2 separate regions of the Homo sapiens genome follow, and region 1 is linked to region 2. The links are contacts of gene promoters, found by promoter capture Hi-C in blood cells and fetal thymus (Javierre and others, 2016). All regions are on one chromosome and are shown on one strand. The core of a region is centred on a gene start or on the middle of the fragment in contact, and the rest is flanking DNA. Distances in the headings are between cores, read along the strand shown.

Region 1 (2,767 bases), core at 103-2,602, 120 kb after region 2:
CATAAAGACTCACAAAGAGCAGAGTTAACATTTATCCTAAGTGCTATATCACCTCTCCTCCTAACCAACTTGCTGTCATTGAATTTTGAATGAGTTTGCAACTTCTCTCTTTTATAGGCATAAAGCATCCCTGTAGCTAAATCTTTGTAAATGTCAATAATTGTTTTCCTAGAACCAATTCCTAGAATGGAATTTCTAAGTCAATTCATTTAAGGTGACAAAGAAATGATATTTGTTTTGTAAATTAAACAATTATGAACAAATTGTTTCAGATGCTTGGAGGAACCATATTTATTGAACACGATAACTGACAATTGATTTACAAGCAGTAATTACTATTGGTCTGATGGGATTTCTTTGAAATGTAACTTCCTATTTACATAGTTTCTCCTGAACAAGAACTTGACTGAGCATAAGCAGGCATTTCTCTAGCTCCGGCCCTTGGCTCCATGTGCCCCAAGACAGGTTGGTGGCTGTACTCTACAGCAGACACCCACACCAGATCCCACCCCTCAAAGATTCAGGCAGATGCCTCCTGAATAGCTATGCTGCACCATGACAGTACGCCAGGGCAGAGAGGCACTGTCACATTCTAGATGTCCCTCCGGCCCCCACCCCAGCCCAGGAATGAAAGGATGGAACAGTATTAGAGTTAGACCTTCAAGGACTGCCCCATAGCCACCCTGCCATCCTGGGCAGACGAGCTATGCAATCTCTAAGTAGAAATAACCCCTACCTCTGGGTTTGTGGTAAAAGTTAAAATTTGACAGTCTATTATGCTAATATTTGGCCTAGATGAGGCTCTCAGCAAACCGTGGCTAATACCATCATCAGCTTCATTCAGATTTACCATCATGTGTCCTCCCTCCTCTTATGCTTCCCTTCCCCCTCCCAGCCCTCTGCTACCAGAATATAAATATGTGCTAAGAGAAAAGAATGTGCTTATATGAGAGACTTAGAGTAGTCAAATTCATGGAAACAAAGTAGACTGGTGGTTACTAGGGGCTGGAGGAGGGCAGAATAGGGAATTCGAGTTTAATGGGTACAATTTCTGTTTTGCAAGATGAAAAAGCTCTGGAGATTGTTTGCGCACCAGTGTGGATGTACTTACTACTGGACTGTACACTTACAGGTGGGTAATGCACTAAATTTTATCTTATATGCCTTTTACCACAGTTTTTTTAAGTTAAAAAAAAACTTTTGTTCAGGAAATAATGTGCTTACACCACAATATTCTCATTAATCTTGGTGGGTCAAGGCAAGGGTACGCTTTATGCTTTCTGGTTATCATTTCCAAAGCTCCCGCACAGTGAGCTGGGCCCCTGCCCTTGTCTCAGACTCTCCTCTTCCACGTCCCTGCCCCATGCAGCCCATGGAAACCACAGCCGGGTGGCAGGGTGAACACATTCCTGGCAGGGTAAGATCTCTTTTAATGAAGTCTTGTTGTGTTTTTTTTGTTTGTTTGTTTTTTGTTTAATGTAAATGTAAATCCAAGTCTTCGATATCCCTGTGAAACAGGTATTATGACTTTAGAAAACACAAAACCTTCCCTTGACCCTCTGCGCCTAGCCAGCCTGCTGCATTTCTCCCACCCACACCCTCCACCTTTCAAAAATACTTTACTTTTTGACGTCTCCTCTTCCACCTCGGCTTACATCTCCCTGTTTTAAAATGCAGGTTTTATTATTATTCAGGTATGGTGAGGCTGACAGATCAGGGAATGACTGCCATTGAAAAGAGTTTATTGTTCACAGTTCCCAAAACAAGGGGGCATGCCACGCCACACAGGGCCACACGGGAGAGCACCAGGGCCAATCCGGGGAAGCGGGGAAGGGGCAAAACATGGCAGGAGCCTTCATTGTGGTTTCCTTGAGAAAGGCGAGGCAGGCCAAGGATAGGCTAGTTTGAATTTCTGTGAGCTCGGGCGCATACGCCCTAGGTTGTCTGGTATCTGCCCTGGAGTGATTGGGGCAGAGGATAGTGGCCGGGAGCGTGAGAGCCCTACAGCGGAGGTGCTTGGAGTGTGGGCGCTGGATTGTTTGGTTGGCAGATGAAAGGCACACCGGCCGGGCGCGGTGGCTCACGCCTGTAATCCCAGCACTTTGGGAGGACGAGGCGGGTGGATCACCTGAGGTCAGGAGTTGGAGACCAGCCTGGTCAACATGGTGAAATCCTGTCTTTACTCAAAATACAAAAAAAAAAAATAGCTGGGCGTGGTGGTGCGCGCCAGTAATCCCAGCTACTCGGAAGGCTGAGGAAGAAGAATCCTTGAGCCCGGGAGGCCGACGTTGCAGTGATCCAAGATTGTGCCATTACATTCCAGCCTGGGCAACAAGAGCGAAACTCCGTCTCAAAAACAAGAAAAAAAGAAAAAGAAAAAATAAAGAAAAAGAAAGGCACACCCATGGGTGCATCCTGTGTTTGCTATCGCTAAGAATTGGCTAGCCCTGGGAAGGGCACTCCTTCTAGGACCAGTAAAGCCTCAAATGTCAGAACATCAAGCTAAGATGCTCTCTCTAGCCCCTCCCCACTGCCCTGAATCTCCTCTCTCCGTAACTGCTAAGTCCGCTCTTTTCTTCCAAGGCTTCGCCCTTCACCGCATGATATCCTGTGTCACAGGTTCTCACCCCTGGCTGTCCAGAGGAATTGCTAGAAGGGATATAAAGATCCGAATGCCCTGGCCTCGCCTCCCACCAGTTATGCCACTCCAGGGAGAGGCACAAGCGCCAGGCAGCTTTAGGGTTCCTGATAATTCCAAAGTGCAGCT
Region 2 (2,787 bases), core at 43-2,542:
AGGTGGGAGAATCGCTGGAACCCAGGAGGCAGAGGCTGCAGTAAGTCGAGATTGTGCCACTGCACTCCAGCCTGGGTAACAGTCAGATCCTGTCTCAAAAAAAAAAAAAAAAAATCCATTTCAATGCAGTTATTTTAAGTAAAAATATTGCTTCAAGAATTAGACCCTCAATGCTCAATTATCCTTTATATAAAGAGTTGTATGCCACTGATTTCTTCATAAGTGTCTTTTTAAAATAATCTTGAATAAGTTCTGAGACATGTATATACACATCAAATCCTTTATGAGGTAAAATAAAATAACATGGTGATGAACAAGTGAGAGTGAGTACCCAGTACCCTGCGGTACCCAGTGCCCTTTTCATTTCAGATGAAACTGTAGAAAATACTTTCTGGGGTTTTTTCTGTGTGGCGGTCATTCTCTAGTGAAATTGTCTGTGGCAGGTTTTGGTCGGTGGTGTTGATTTAGCCTGTATCTGTTGGAGTATACTTTTTACCATTTTGACAAGAGAGAAGTGACAAGTGGTTACCCCACGTGGCGTGGGTGTGCTGAGATGGGATGGCGGGCAGCCCTGCCGGCACGGATCGCCCGCTTGCTGAGCTCTTGCCATACCTGGTGTCCTGGGGCAGTGCAGAGCTGCCTGAAGTATATGCCATCTGGCCCTGCATCAGCTACTGTTGGTATCGTGGAGGAGACAAAGTCCTCAAGTCTAACGGGAGACCTGGAGTGCTGCTCGTACAGTGCCAGGAGGAGAGCTGAGGAAGGGGGCCCTGAGGACAGTAGCACTCTGAGGAGGAGGTGGTGGGGAAAAAAGAGGCCATGAAAGGAGAGGGTGGGAGTACAGATGGAGAAAATGGCGAGAAAGGAGGAAGGAAAGTTCAGGAAATGTGCAGGGAGTGAAGCCAGGCGGGCCAGGGCATTGCTGGGGAGGGACGAGGTCCCTGCGGAAACCAGCTGGGAAGGAGGCTGAGGTGGATTTGTGGAGGGTCTGAAATTCATGGTGATGTTCCTGCACTGCCAAAGGGGAATCAGCCTTTTTTTCTCCTTTGAGAGAACAGATGAGGGTTGAAATTAGAACTGTGTTTTTAAACTATATTTTAGCAACCTTTAAAATATATGTATATATATATTAAGTAGAGTCATAGTGCATAATATAACAACAAAATCGGAGCCTTAACTCTCACCTTCTTCTGGGCCTCAGGAACCCCGAGCTCATGGGAAAAGTCTTGAGGATCTCCCCATCAGGAAGGTCACGGAGGGACTGCAGGAGCAGGGAGTTGCTAGAAGGAAGAGACCTGCCAGGCAGCTATTGTACATGGAGGGGATGGGACCCAGTGCAGGGAACAGAAAGGAAGTAGGTGTGAGAAACGTTGCCACTCTCACCTGGACCAAGTGCGATAGCTGATTGGCTGCAGGAGAGCTGGGGGCGGGTATTCGGTATGAGATCCACAGGCTGCTGGGAATGCAAAGAGCCAGGAAGACAGGAAGAAAAGTTGATGGGAGGAGGAGGAGACACCAGAGGGGTCGGCTCGGGTTTCAGGTGTTCGGGGCCACCTCATATGAGATGCTTGAAATAATTGGACTGTGACTCAGGCGACGGGTCAGCCTGCTGACAGATTTGGGAGGCTGCTGCGTGGAAGGGGAATTTGAAACGTGGGCTGGATCAGCACGGAGGATTGGGCAGGGAGAAGGCCAAGGCTCAAGTGGAGAAACAGCCATCAAGTTTAAAGTAGGAAGGAGGGAAGAGCCAGCAAAGGGGGTGGTGAGCGGTGATAGGAAGACAGCAAGCCAGGCACAGCGGTCAGGGACGTCAGTGATGACCAAGAAGCGGCCTCCAGGAGAGGCGAATGTTACAGGTGCCTTTCCCCGTGAGGTCTGGAAGAAATACTGGCTTGTAACCTCGCAGGCCACTGTACCCCTTGAGTCTCAATTTCTTTGAGTCAAATTGGGGTCATTTTCTGCCCTACCAGCCCCATCTGCCCTTGTGTGACGATCAAGTAAGATAAGTGTAAAACCACCGGCCATCTGCTCCATTCCAGCTGTAATAGGAACTAGACTGTGGACAGTGTTGATGTGAGGCCTCCAGGGAAGAGGATTAAAGTATATCGGAGCTCTTGTTCCTTTGTTCAGGCTTGACACAGTCTCCTTTGTCACCAGGTTTGTTAACCACAGGAGCACTGAGCTTCTCAGACATCCCACACCTTTGTGGGAAATACCTGTTGGGAAGTATTTTTGACACACACTGTGTGCATACATTGGGAAGAGCTCTCTAGTGGCTATTTTTTTTTAATAGGCATTTGACAAGATTATTGCCTTAAGGCGACAGTGAGAGCTAATGCTTCTGTAGCTCCTATTCTGTTCCAGATACTGTTCTAAATACAAGTAACGCATTCGATCCTCTCAGCCAACCCTATGAGGTAGATATTGAGAAAATTAGTGCTCAGAGAGGTTCAATAACTTGCCCAAAGTCCTAGAGCTAGTGAGTGCCCAAGCCAGGTTGGAACCTAGAATCCCGGCTCCAGAGCCAGTGCTCTGAACCACTGTGGAAGAATACCAGGCGGGCTATGACGGCATGCAAGCCAGGCACACAGCCTGTGCTAAAACCGTCTGTGAAAGGAGAGAAGACTGCATTGGTACAGTCAGAAGACTTGATGGGAGAGGTGGATGTCAGCCAGATCCTAATGGATGGGTGTTGATTAGTAAGCACTATACTATGCTCTCCAACCAAGCTAGAACCCTCATCTTATTCAGGAAGGCGATGTCATAACCACTCCATCAAGCTGGGAT

What was found. The method cuts DNA at HindIII sites, captures the fragments that hold promoters and counts their contacts. A CHiCAGO score of 5 or more calls a contact.
Region 1: a contact is called between a fragment that was not itself captured here and the fragment with the promoter of MRPS9-AS1 in region 2, in 11 of 17 cell types (total B cells, naive B cells, M2 macrophages and 8 more). The highest score is 9.7, in total B cells.

The regions. Positions count from the first base shown.
Region 1 is chr2:105,222,033-105,224,799 of GRCh38, forward strand. No RefSeq gene overlaps it. Among named protein-coding and RNA genes, the nearest start is that of GPR45, 18 kb to the right of the region's middle. The HindIII fragment of the contact is 3,786 bases long and covers 1-2,767 here.
Region 2 is chr2:105,101,652-105,104,438 of GRCh38, forward strand. MRPS9-AS1 (MRPS9 antisense RNA 1) reads right to left here and starts at 1,293. Exons shown (of 4, transcript NR_110227.1): 1 at 1,185-1,293. LOC105373527 (a long non-coding RNA gene) reads left to right here and starts at 106. Exons shown (of 3, transcript XR_923138.3): 1 at 106-2,787. RefSeq lists enhancers at 1,849-2,710, 2,711-2,787. The HindIII fragment of the contact is 13,539 bases long and covers 1-2,787 here.